3 separate regions of the Homo sapiens genome follow, and regions 1 and 3 are each linked to region 2. The links are contacts of gene promoters, found by promoter capture Hi-C in human tissues and cell types (Jung and others, 2019). All regions are on one chromosome and are shown on one strand. The core of a region is centred on a gene start or on the middle of the fragment in contact, and the rest is flanking DNA. Distances in the headings are between cores, read along the strand shown.

What was found. The method cuts DNA at HindIII sites, captures the fragments that hold promoters and counts their contacts. A contact is called where the count stands out against the background at its distance.
Region 1: a fragment that was not itself captured here is called in contact with the fragment with the promoter of ABCA12 in region 2 in 1 of the 25 tissues and cell types used here (adrenal gland).
Region 3: a contact is called between a fragment that was not itself captured here and the fragment with the promoter of ABCA12 in region 2, in 1 of the 25 tissues and cell types used here (dorsolateral prefrontal cortex).

Annotation. Positions count from the first base shown.
Region 1 is chr2:214,815,769-214,820,443 of GRCh38, forward strand. All of the region lies in intron 1 of SNHG31 (small nucleolar RNA host gene 31), which reads left to right. Among named protein-coding and RNA genes, the nearest start is that of SNHG31, 7.9 kb to the left of the region's middle. The HindIII fragment of the contact is 3,216 bases long and covers 703-3,918 here.
Region 2 is chr2:215,136,421-215,141,415 of GRCh38, forward strand. ABCA12 (ATP binding cassette subfamily A member 12) reads right to left here and starts at 2,206. Exons shown (of 53, transcript NM_173076.3): 1 at 1,720-2,206. The coding sequence starts at 1,788. The HindIII fragment of the contact is 12,690 bases long and covers 1-4,995 here.
Region 3 is chr2:214,729,378-214,733,787 of GRCh38, forward strand. It overlaps BARD1 (BRCA1 associated RING domain 1), which reads right to left. Exons shown (of 11, transcript NM_000465.4): 10 at 1,034-1,131. Among named protein-coding and RNA genes, the nearest start is that of BARD1, 78 kb to the right of the region's middle. The HindIII fragment of the contact is 4,235 bases long and covers 1-3,968 here.

The DNA.
Region 1 (4,675 bases), core at 1,061-3,560, 320 kb before region 2:
TCAAGTTATTGGCTGCAGTGTACTGTACTGAACCGTTTTAGCATGCCACAGTCTCTTTGACTAGTACATACCAACTCAGTCCCTATGTCATGTACACCTTGGCATTTAGTTTAGAATTACCCAAGTCTCTAGAAGCATCTAGATATTTTAAGATTGTTTTTGAAAGGATGTTAACTCCATTCTTGTGGGCACCTGCCAAATTTCTGTCACAGGCTTAAAAGTAACTAGTCTAAGGACATAGTTACATTACTATGACCCCACAGTAGTTGTTTTAAAGGTTTTGGTATCTTCTGTACTTCCTGATCATTTATCAAATTCAGTCTGACACACATATTTCACTGGTCATTGTTTTTTGTTCAATAGACTTCAGAGTTCAGCCCATTCCACTGCCTTTTATTGCTTGCTATTTTTAAGGAGACACCTCAGTAGAAATCCTCTTTTTCTGTACAGTGTAATTACTGAAGCACATAAAGTGGTTATAACAGGAATTTATCACTTTCAGGTGGAAATACTCCCAGCCAAATAAAAGATAGAGTAGGAATGCCAGAAGCAATTTATAACAGGCTCACTGACATTTTGTGTTGAGAAGCTCTACCACTGAATAAGCATCAAGTCATAAATCTCTGTAAACGTGATTAAAGCAAGCAAGTTATACTTTGAGGGGATACTATAATAAAAGGATGCTGTGATGCAAAGCAGGAAAATTCTGTTGACAAAAATCACCAAAAACAGCTGTCAGTAAAATTTACAAACAGCTTGTTTTAAATTCTGTTGGATTCTAGCAGCTGTTTGTTTGCACATAAAATGTTCATTTAGGAAATGAGCATTGGCCCTAGTTTGGGTTCCATTGTGTTTCAAAATTCTGTAATCAGTTTAATCAAAATTCATGCAATAATTTAAATTTCATTCAAAGCACAAGTGAGAAGTAACCAATATATTTAAATATGCCTCATATACAATTTGTGTTCAATAAATATGGGAATAAAAAAAAAAGAATGACTATATACCATTATCTGTAAAAGCAATGATCAATTACAACATGCATTTCAGCTTAATTTTTCTTCATCCATATATATTCTTTTAGAAATTATGCCTTGTTCATATTGGACTCATTTTACTCTTATTGTTAATAATCCTTAAGAGCCCTTCAGCAATATATTTAGAATTTAGAACGCTGACTTAAAATTTAGTTACAATTATCAGACATAGTCTATTAAATTTCGCTCATGCCTTTAGTTACTTTTCTCACTATCTCAAAATATAGCTTATATATTTTTTCATCTGTAAAGTAGGGATAACAGAAAATACTTTACTGCTATTATATGGATAAAATAAGCTAATACACTTAGAAAAGTGCTTGGAACATATTAAGTTCCTAATAAATGCTAGCATTTACCACTGTACAAAAAACTCTAGGTTCAAGAATAATAAATTGATCAGAATTTTTTTTAGGTAATAAGAGCATGTGTGTATATATATGTATGTGTGTGTATATATGTATATATAAGTGTGTGTGTATATATGTATGTGTATATGATATGGTTTGGCTGTGTCCCCACCCAAACCTCACCTTGAATTGTAATAATACCCATGTGCCAAAGGTGGGGACAGGTGGAGATAATTGAATCATGGGGGTGGCTTCCCCCATACTGTTCTTGTGATAGTGAATAAGTCTCATGAGATCTGATGGTTTTATAAACGGGCATTCCTCCACACAAGCTTTCTTGCCTGCTGCCATGTAAGAAGTGACCTTGCTCCTCATTCACCTTCCGCCATGATTGTGAGGCCTCCCCAGCCGTGTGGAACTGTGAGTCAGTTAGACCTCTTTCCTTCATAAATTACCCAGTCTTGGGTATGTCTTTATTAACAGCTTGAGAACAGACTAATACAGTATAGGTATACACACACACAATACACACATACCATTTTTAGGTATTAATTTGGGAAATTTGGAAGCCGAGTCAAACCAAAAAATACAATCATAAAAATAAATATAATGTTGTGTTCTCTTTATTCTTAAACCAAACACCATGATCATCTTTCCTTCCCTGATTTTACTCACATCATTGAGAAAAATATATTGCTTTGGTTATATTTTCTAGAAAAAAGTCTGTATAATCCAGATTCATCATATAATCCTAACAATCACCCAGTAGTATAGACACCATTACCCCGTTTGACAGAAGAGGAAAAGGGACTTCAAGCTATTTAGTGACTTTCCTAAAAACATATAGCTTACAGATAGCAGAGCAAGGAAATAGTTCCAGGTTTGCCTGACTCCAAAGCCCAAGCACATAAGTAGCACATAACCTAGTTTTAATTACGTTCAACTTCAGAAAAGGATATTATTTAAATCCCAATCAGTTGAAATACGAGTTCATACCCATTTTCAGCACAATTATACATTGTTACTTACAGAAAAAGTTTGTTATAGTCTTTCCTCTCAGAGAATTTAGTTCCTAGTTATTAAGACTATGCAAGACACAATATAAATAATATGAGACATTATAATTAAGTGTTCAATTCTGTGATCCACATAAAGTATCACAAAAGGTCATGGGAGAGAATCCTTACAGTTGCTTAATGAAGATTGGAACGATCATGGATATCTGTGGGAGAGGTGAAAGTGGGAGTTAAGTCTTAGGTTTGAGTAGTAGAAGGGAGGAGGAAAATTATTTTAGATGGGCAAAATCATAGGAATGCAGACACACAAATGATAGGGGAACATCACTACCAGCTTGACTAGAGCAAAAGTGTTGATTGAAGCATATAAAATTACTGGTTTTGTAGGTCAAAAATGGTCAGACAACAGCAATTTCATCTGGCTCAACCTAATACCTATTATATAGTAGTGATTATAGTTAGTACACAGCTAAATGTAATAACGAACTCCTAGAATTTGGGGAAGGATCAGTGAAAAGTCACTTTCTGAGAGGGAAGCTAGCAGCTATCAATAAATAATGGCTGAGATTTTTATCTGTTCATATATGCCACCCTAAGAGATTTGGAAATATGGTGCTTAGCTATTCAAAGAAAAGCCCCATTGCGACCAAGCAAATAGACTAAAATTAAAGCCCTGAAATATTTTTTTAAAAGCTTGCCTTTCAGGGCAACTTGAGCCAGGGAGTAAATATTAAGTCACATTATTAATAACAACCCACATTTATATAGCTTTGCCATCCACCAGTGGTGTGTGCTAGCTGGCATGTTTAGGCTCACAAGAGCCATTTATTAAATTTTCAGGAATTTTTAGGAGTTTTGCCAGCTGTTTGTTAAATGTTGTCATTATTTAAAATTATATTATGTGAACTTAGAATAACTTTTTAAAAACAAAGGTAATATTAAAAACTCACTTCCTAAATATTTTACTGCATTTACTTATTATCTATGCTCTTGAAGTTATTTACATTTTTTTCTATCCCTATAGTAGAAATGCTATAGTATATGATAGTGTGCTCTTGCACATCTTATCAACTTCACATTCAGTGACATCACTTTGGTAGCTTGAAATCAGCCACAGTGAGAGTATTTACAACAGGAATATCTGTGTAAGGCTTAATTAGGGCTTAATATATTCTTTTGTTGATTGTTTATTCCAGACATAGATGAATAAAATGTAATAATACAGAATACATTTACTTCAGTATCTTGAAAGCAGCCATGGTGAGAGTATTTACACCAAGAATATTGGTGTAAGGCTTAATTAGGGCTTAATATATTTCATTGATTGTTTATTCTAAACGTACATGAGAAAAATGTAATAATGCAGGTTACTTTTAAATATATGTCATGTCTGCCATGGCAAAAGAAATATATTATGGACTTTGGGGACTCAGGAGGAAGGTGAGAGTGGGGTGAGAGATAAAAGACTACACATTGGGTACAGTGTATACCGTTTGGGTGACGGGTGCACCAAAATCTCAGAAATCACCACCAAAGAACGTATTCATGTAACCAAAACCACCTGTTTCCCAAAAACTATTGAAATAAAATAAAATACATTTTAAAAATGTTTAAAAAGTATGTCATGTCTATAGATGTTGTATTGTGAATAGGTACAAAAATTGGTGATATATATCTATATCTATCTATATAGGTAGATATAGATATAGGTATTTTTGAGAGGGAGTCTCACTCTGTGCCCAAGCTGGAGTGCAGTGGTGCCATCTCGGCTCACTGCAATCTCCGCCTCCTGGGTTTAAATGATTCTCCTGCCACCACCTCCCAAGTAACTGGGATTGCAGGCACCTGCCACCACACCCAGCTAATTTTTGTATTTTGGTAGAGACGGGGTTTCACCACGTTGGCCAGGCTGGTCTCCAACTCCTGACCTCAAGTGATCCGCTCACCTTGGACTCACAAAGCGCTGGGATTACAGGCATGAGCCACTGCACACAGCCTAAAATTGGTGACATATTCTTTCAGTATTCAACTTGCAAGCAAGTCACATCATTGATGAACAAGTTTCACTTCTGTCTGACTCTAATACAAATATCAACCAACATATATGTTGCAACTACACTCAGAATGCTCATTGTTCAACATTTACCAGCATGTCAGTGCATCTACCTATTATGTCCAGTTGTGTCTACCCTGCCTACCACCGTGTGGAAATCTCAGGCTGTGTTTGACATTTAGTCGCAAACACAGTGCTGTTGGCACAACATGGGATCCA
Region 2 (4,995 bases), core at 956-3,455:
TCAATGAAAAACAAACATCTTCACCTGAGATTTGGGTGTTTTTTTTTCCTATAACTTTTTTTACACAAAATAGAGTTGTAAAAGAAACAGACCTCAGCATTCAGATTATTGACAATAACACGTACAGATTTTAGTTCCTCTGTGTTTTTGTTTTTAGCTATTGAATTTTTATCACTTACAAACTTGACTGTACGTGGATTTCTTCCTTTTACCCACAGTATCTTCTCCTGAATTTCCTTTCATTATTAATCTGCATAAAATATGACACACATTGCCTCAAATCCCTCACTAATCTATTTGCTAAGTGTGTCAGTATTATAAAGCACTTTGAAATACATTAGCACATTTGGTACTTCCCCCAATGAGTTAGATGTGGCAGGCTTCATGCCACATCTAACTAATCATGTCACGTCTAACTCATCATGCCACATCATGGTGGGAAAAACAGTGCTTAGAGAAACTGTCTTAAGCTACTTAAGTTACATGAGGAGCAGTGGCAGGGGCCCCAACTCGCATGCTCTGACCACATGACCACATCCACACACCCAGGATCCTTTCCCTGCTTATGCCACACAGAATCAACCACATGATAATTATGGGGAGGTTTTCTTCTGTGCTTTTTTTTTTCCAGTTAAAAAACAAATAAAAACATGAATGAGTTTATAATTTTATATTCAAACCCCACACCCATGCAATCACATGCCTTAGAATTTTAAAACCCTACCCACAAAATTCACAAGGGTAAATGAACATCTACTTCCTCCTCTTACTACACACATCAAAACACTCAAGTAAAGTGTCAGGCAATCCAAGCAAGCCTGGAGCGAGATAAGGTGCATAGATAAAGTGCTGGTTTCTGTGTGATGCATATTATTTGCATAATATTTACATTACTCATTCAAGGCTGGGAATTACCACTTTAAAATAAAGTATATTGAATACCTTTTTGGATTTCCCCGATTTTCAAACATTCTTCTGAATATATAACAACTCCCAGAAACCAATTCCTTTCTCAATCATCCTGGGAGCCATCTGATGAGGATCTAATAGCTAACTTTGTAATTAGAACGCAAACATTAATGTAAGAGTACAAAAAAGACGTTGCAATGAGCAAGAGAAGATAGATTGTAGTAGTAAAGCTAAGTGATTCAATAATATTCTTAAAACATAGCACATATACATACTCTTGTTTGGTATTCCCAGTAAATGATTTTTAGATACTAAAATTTCTCAGTAGCTTTTCTATACTAATAGCCTTCAAACTATTTCTGTTCTGTATTTTACCTTTCAACCAAACTTTCTATGGCTTTCAGTTTTCCAGTATATTTCTTCCCATTTATTGTACATTTCAAATAATACTTTTCTTTCCTCTATCCCATTTTTAACTACATTAAGAAAAATTCTGAAAGCCTTTTGGCTTGAAACCAGAATTCAACGTTCCAGTTCAGCCAGTAATGAGTCATGTTCTTTTTTTTTTGCCCAGGGCATGTCCTGGTTTACTCTTTAATTTACTGAAATGAAAAGGCTGCTTTTGGGGGCATGTTAAGACTCGCTCCATTAGCTATAAGACAGATAGGGGGATGAATTCTAAATATCTTACTTCCTGCTTTGGAAAATGCCTTTAAACTCTTCTGTTTTCACTTCTCATTAAGATCACATTTTAGGATTACCTGGCGTATTGCCCCATGACCCATACTCCCACACTTTTTTTTAACTCACCGGCTGCCTTTTTACACCTAGCCAATTTTTCCAGACCAGGATCTGAAGCTGATGAAACAGGGAAGCCATCCTTCAAATGCCCCAAATGAGAGATTTCCTCTTCTTTTCTCCACTCCACAAATGAAGAACTGATGCCCCGTCCAACTTGCTGTATGTCAGTGTATCAGTACCCCTTTCACGGCATAGCTTCCTTGAGGGCTGGGGTAAGAAACCCACAGTTCTTCTGTTTCTGCTGGATTTTTCCCTGTGGTTAATCCTTAACCAAGAGGCACTTCTCAATCAACTCTTCTTCCAAAAGAAGGACCCAGATCAGTATCTTTGGGTGGCTTATGCTTATTTTAAAATAATATCCAGTTGCTGCTTGTTGCACGAAGTCCAGACTCAAGAGAGAATGAGCATCATTCAGATAATGCCTCACTGAAAAAAAAAAAAAAGCAGCAGCTGAACCCACACCTCCTACTCTCCATGAAATTAATTGCCTATCCACACCTTAGAGAACATGTCACCTGCACTGGATGCGTCACAGGGACTAGGGGGTGGGACCTTTGCAAGGCCAGTAGGACTTGTCCTACATTCTCTTGTCTTCTTTCCTGCACACAGTGTCTGCTCTAGCAGAGGCAGGGCACAGAGAGCATTTCACAGACACTGGGCCCAGTGACTCTTTAATATTAAAGTGTCATTAAAATGATTTAAGTCAATAAGGCCAGAGCTTAGCTGCAAAGCTCTGAGCCTCAGCCCATCATTAGATATACTAGGGAAAGTGTCCACCTTTAACCTAAAGTTGAATGTTTCGATTTTGGGGGAAGAAACTATGTTGGCCAGGTCCCACCTTTCATCACAATGTACTAGGTTAAGCACAGGGCAGAAAAGGAAAGGTAGGCTGTAGGGGACATAAATTACAAACTGGAGTCCCTCAATTCGTGAGTGGAGATTCACGTGTCTATTACAGACAAGCCACATTGTTTCAGGCTCTTATAGTGAAAGGGGACACAGGCTGATCCAAGACATTTCTATTTCCTCTTTCCATGATACATTCCTCCCTCTCTAAGATCCTGCCTTTCAAAGTTATCCCCAAGTTGACATCTTCAATGAAGCCTTTTTGGATATATCCCATAGGATAGATTCTCTTGCCTTTGAATCATTCTTTGTTGCCCTCTCTCAAGGAACTTAAAGTTTTTGCATTATTTTTATTTGTGTATGTCTTATTTTTCCTACAAGATTATAAATTATTTGAGGACATGGACTATTTTATATCACAGTACTTTACATATCATTAGTGTTCAATACTTGCTGCTGAATGTAATTGAATAAACTACTGGAGCCAAGGCTAGTAGGGTGAAGCTCCCCTTTGATCCTCACACCTACCCTGACTAATCCAGACTTTACTTGCAAAATCCGTTAAAGCATTAAGAGTTCTCCCTTCGCCAGGTGCGGTGGCTCATGCCTGTAATCCCAGCAATTTGGGAGGCCGAGACGGGCTGATCACTTGAGGTCAGGAGTTCAAGACCAGCCTCGCAAACATGGTGAAACCCCGTCTCTACTAAAAACACAAAAATTAGCCAGGCATGGTGGTGGGCACCTGTAATCCCAGCTATTTGGGAGGCTGAGGAGGGAGAATCGCTTGAAACCGGGAGGCAGAGGTTGCAGTGAGCTGAGATGGCGCCACTGCACTCCAGCCTGGGCAAAAGAGTGAGATTCCATCCCCCCTCCAAAAAAAGGAATCTAGCACAGGTCCTGCCTCATAGTAAGTAGTCAATTAATTCTATTAATTGGGTAGCAATGTTTGCTAAGGACTTATTGAATCATCCTAGGAGTCCTATTATATAGAAACTGTCATTATTCCCATTTTCAGTGAAAGAAAGTGATATTTAGAAGTGCCATAACTTGCTGGATTTCACCTAGTTAGCAGTGAGGACAGTGGGAACAGCAGAGAAGGAACTCGAACCTCGTTTCTGTACTGTTAATCTCTGTGCTATGTTTTCTCCAGTCCCATGTATTACACTTCACAGGAAGAGCTGAGAAACAAATGAACATCAGGGATTTTCCCTGTTTCTCTAGGCAGGTCTATAAATCACTTGTAGAGATTTTTTTGTAAGTACACGCATGAAAAATTATGGCCAAAATGAGTTCACAAAGAGTAGTTGCTCCAGGAATTCAGGAGAAGGAAGGCTGCTCTTTTAGGCTTCTTCATAGAGCCTCACGGCACTTCCCAGCCTGGCTCTTGCCAGCTTCATCAGTTGTCTCTCCACCTTCAGCCCTCCCTCCTGCCATCTGCTAGAATACTTTAGATGAGGACTGTTCACTTTCAGGCTTTGGTCATGCTGTTCCCTCTGCCCAAAATGAAATTGTGCTCATTCTCAAATGACTGACTCAAGTGTAACTTCCCCTCTGAAGCCTTTTCCAGCACTTCCACCCACCACACCCCCACCCCCGGCTGAATTAATCACCCCTTCATCTGTTTTCCCATAAAGCTTTGTTCGCACAGATAGCCAACTCCCTTATTACCTTCTAGTATAGTCAGTCTGTCTCTCTGTCCATACTCTGAGCCCCTTGAGTACAGGGACCAAGTCTCATGGAACACCACAATTTTGAGATAAATTCTGTATTCCTGAATGGTGAGAATTCTGACCCAACTAAATCTAAGAGCTGGTCTGAAGTAGTAGAAGATAAAGTTGGAGAGTTAGGGACCTAAAGCCAAAGAGGAGGAGATGTCATATTGCGGATTTAAAATGAAAAGTTCCTGGAAACTCTTCTTAAGAGATAGAGTATGATAAAGCCGATGCTGTGGGATGATGAAAATGTTAGTAGAATGAGAAACTGATTGAAGTTGAGACTTGAAACCCTGTTTTTGAATAGAAAAAACAAGTGAATTGAGTTAGTGATGATGTAAAACAGTTCAGAAATTTTAACAGCAACCAGATTATAATTTTACTCCTTTGTCTCAGCACTGGTTGTTGTGTATAGCATCAGTGACAACTTTGTTTGTTTGTTTGTTTTACCATCAACTGACTTTTACATTAAGGTGCTATGGGATACTCATTGCATACAGGACCTGTGAGGTCAACATTATTTTACCTGCTGTATACGTGAAGATGCATAGGACAAGTAGCTTCCTGAGGTCACACAGATAATGGGTGTCAGAACATTAATTTGAACCCAGGTTTCTGTGTCTGCAAAACCTGTTCTCCAACAGGCCCTAATAAAGCAAGCATGGGTAAGAAAACACAGCAAGTGCACACATTTAACCTAGGTGGAAATGTGCAACAAGTTGGGAAA
Region 3 (4,410 bases), core at 601-3,100, 410 kb before region 2:
AAAGCTCAAAAAGTTTTGGATTTTGGAGCATTTTAGATGTTGGATTAGGAATGCTCCATCTGTAACAATTATGAGCAGCTAAGAAGCTACTTAATGAGGTGCTGGGACAAGTTATATTTCAAGCATACTAACTGGATCAAGAAAAATACTTAGGCAAATAGGGGCTTCCTATTTACAATTTTTTCCCTAAGATTCAGTCACCATCTCGGTTCCTTTTCACTCTTCTAAAATTTTAGATATGCTTGGTATAAAGAAAAAAACAAACTATTCATCAAACTTTTTTCATCAGGATGTTTATGCTTATTTGGTGGGACTTAAAGCCTCCACAACTCCTAGCTTATTTGAAATAGGCTTCAGAGACACCAGGCTAAACATTATTAAATTACAAGAGTAACATCTTTTCCGTGGACTTTTATCCAATTCTGCCCATCCACATTCAGGTCCTTACATATTACCAACCTAAGGTCTCCAGGGCAGCCACCATGGGGGTGTGCCCTCCAGGGTTCCAGAAATGTATTCACGGGGCACAAAAGATTTTTGTGCTGAGGCTAGGGATCCAATTAGCTATGAAACATACTTCCGTATGCTCGTTGGAAATAAAAAAAGTTTCATAATTCCCTTCTATGGAAATTTTCTTTGTGACTTCTAATATACTTATATAATATCAACAGGATAATGCGATATTATCCATTAAAGCTACAATATGTGGCCATAGAGACATATGGTAACTAAATCCAAGCAGCAGCTGTAAGTCTTCTTTCAAGCTACTTCCTGTATCTGAGATTTACCTCAGATTCTGAAAGGTTTATGGCAATGTTCAAGATGCCAAAAATCCATTAACAGTATGAAATTATTACCTTCTGGATTTTACTGCTCATCGTGATCATCTTTCAGAATCAAGTGCTTGAAATAAGCACAATTAAAATTTTAATCAGTCACCTGTAGCTGTTGAAAGGGCAGAAGTTCTTCCTGATGGTGATAATAATAGTATGTCATAATAAGAACAATGAAAGTTGTATTAAAAGAAAAATACCAGCTGTTCTCTGTTGAGCCTGCTTCTGCGTGGACCTTCAGGAATTTCATACTTTTCTTCCTGTTCACATACTTTTCTTCGTAGACATGCTTTTACCCCTGACAAAAACACAAGAATTAAAGCAAACTAAGTATCAAGTGAGCACTATATCTCTCTCATTAAAATCAAGCAATTTACCTAAGTGGTTTTTCTTCTTCATGGCAGTTTTTAAGTATTATTCTAAAATGCAAACAGAAATCTTACTTATGCCAAAACAAAATGTAATACAACTGGTTTTCCCATATAAAGAAAATATTTTAAAAAACTCTTTCTTTGGAGGATTAAGCCATAAGTTAGTACTGAACACTAACTGTAATTTTAATCTCCTTTCTGAAAAACCTAAGCCAGGATACTATTTCAAAGACAAAAATAAAAGTCTACATTTCCACTCATAGCAATTACCCAAAATTAAGGTGAATAAAAAGTCCATGACACAATAACCTAAACTGAGCACTTACCATCTATACTGCTCATTTTGACAGTTATATGTCTAATCGTCTGTTAAACTGTAAGTGATTTGACATGAAGGAATGTGCTTTAGTCTACAGCACCAAGCTCAGCTAGCCACACAACAGGGGTTCAACAGCGCTTCCTAAAATAAACAAGCAGAGCTTGGGATAGGTTTGGCATGTGACAGGTACACAACTGAGGTTGCTAGTCTAGAGATGATTTGATTGGGCTTTGCAGGAAAAAAAAAAGCATTCTTTTGATGGCTTGAGTAAGTCTGTTCACAGCTTCAGGTTAAAAAGCAAAAGCAATAGAGACAGCTCAGCCTGGCACTGTTTAGAGTCATTCCACTGCTTGGCACCTGGGTGGGGAATCCCTAAGTAGGGCCACTGGCTGGCAGCCAGTACCAATTGTCTCGCTAGGCTCTAGAAATGAAAGGAACCCTTGGGATTCCCAGGACCAATCATGAAGGACATGGTCAGCTTCAGCTAGAGACAACATCTTGGATAATGCCTGTTTACCACCAAGCGAGGGAACTGATGGCATGTATATATATTTATCATGCTTCTGTTCTGATGGCATATAACTAAACTAAATTTGAGATTTGCAGTTGAAGGACTTGGCTATCCCAATTACTTGTTCTGGAAGCTTCCTTGCCTATGGAAATAAAAAATGAAAACAATGTTTTTCACCGGGCTTCTGTGGATAAAATGCAAGAAGCATTCTAAAAACTAGATACTACAATGAATTATCTTCATCATAAAAACAAACCCTCCATACAATTTCCTATTTGTCTTTGAGGTTGTTTTGCTCAATACTTCATTTTATCACTGAGGGTAGGAACCATATATTATTCACCTATGCGTTCTTCAGAATTTCATACACTTTCCCATAGAACAGGAGTTTAATAGCAGAGGGTATCGGGAAAGTTGGAACAATAACTCAGGTATCCCCTTCACTGTCTAGTGTTGTTAACATAAAGGAACAAAAGTTTTTAAAAATTCACTATGGACACAGCATTGACAGATTGTATCCACATCAATAAAAATAAGTAATTATATAGCACCTGTAAGAGTTCAGAGTTACACATAGTTTTGAATATCAAACTGTTACATCCTGTTATCACTTGATATCTAATGGCTTAAAATGATCAGAAAAAAATCTATGGCTGCATAAACATATACTTTATATTGAGGATTAGACATATATGTTGGATATACTACAGTGTTTTGGAAACCTCTTGAAAAATGCTAGTGATAAAGTTTTGTCCAGCTGATCCCTACTTACTTCAACAGTAAATTGATTCCAACACAGGAGCAGAACCACTACTCGGCATGTAAACTGCATATGCCTGCAAAAGGGCTCCTTTCTTGACTAAAGGGTGGCTAAGAACCAACAGTTAATCTGCTACCCAGAACTGTCCTGCGATTGCATCTAATATAAATTAAGATTCAGTTGTGTATGAGTAAAATGTCTTTTGACCTATGATGATTTTTTTTTCTTTTTTTTTTTTTTCTGAGACAGAGTCTTGCACTGTCACCCAGGTTGGGGCGCAGTGGCGCAATCTCGGCTCACTGCAAGCTCCGCCTCCTGGGTTCACACCTTTCTCCTGCCTCAGCCTCCCAAGTAGCTGGGACTACAGGCGCCCGCCACCATGTCTGGCTAATTTTTTGTACTTTTAGTAGAGACAGGCTTTCATCGCGTTAGCCAGGATGGTCTCGATCTCCTGACCTCGTGATCTGCACACCTCAGCCTCCCAAAGTGCTGGGATTACAGGCGTGAACCACCACACCTTGCTGACCTATAATGATTATCTTGAGAGCAAAAACTTATACTGGAGAAGAAAAAGAAATGCAATGTTTTCCAAGAGTGAGTAATGGTCCACTTTAGACTAACTCAGACTTTATGGCATAATCGGTTTTAAACTTTCTTCTTTATTACCCCACACTGACACAATAACAAAACTTCAACTGTTTCCAGGAGCCACATCTGCAGAATTTGGAGTAAGCGACAGAACTGAAAAAACTGGTACTTTCTGAGGGAAAAAAAATGTGTTTGAGTCCTCTTTATAAAATGTTTTATTTATTCTAATCTTGTAACTTGAATTTTGAAAATACCTAGAATCAAATAACTTACGAGGTAGAAAAGACCCTGAAGAGCTAGTCCTACCTTCTTGTTTTAAAGATCTGCACAGTCAAGTGCAGAAACATAAAGTGACTTGCTAAGATCACTAATAGCAAAGTTAAAGTGAACCACTTCCTAAAGCAACAGACTTCCACTTCGGCGCTCTTCCTATATCATATTTATAGGCCAAGTATCCCTTATCTGAAGTGTTTGAAACCACAAGTGTTTTAAAATTCAATTTTGTTTTGGATTTTGGAATATTTGCACGTACATAATTAGGTATATCTTGGCAACAAGACCCAAGTCTAAAAAAGAAATTCATTTATGTTTCATATACGCTTTATACAGATAAAGCATATATGAAGATAATTTTATATACTATCTTTAATAATTTTGTGCATAAAGTTGTGTCTGCGTTTAGACTGTGAGCCATCATGTTAGGTCGTGTGTGTTGTGCTGGCACTCAAATAGTTTAGTATTTTACAGCATTTTGGATTTTCAGATTAGGAATGCTCAAACTGTGTTAAACACCTATCATGTACAAGAGAAGTCATAATCTCTTCCCTAAGAAGAAAATTCCTGCTGTTTCCTGTCACTTTATTTCAATAATCTAATCCTGAACTTTCATTAATATTGTATGCTCTATCTCAGAGTGCTTAATTTTAAATGAAATTTTATTGCTTTATTTTCCTCTGTCAACAAGCAATCCACTATCAAATTTAATTTTTCAAGCACATTTAAAATTACATCCATGTTTTAAAGATATT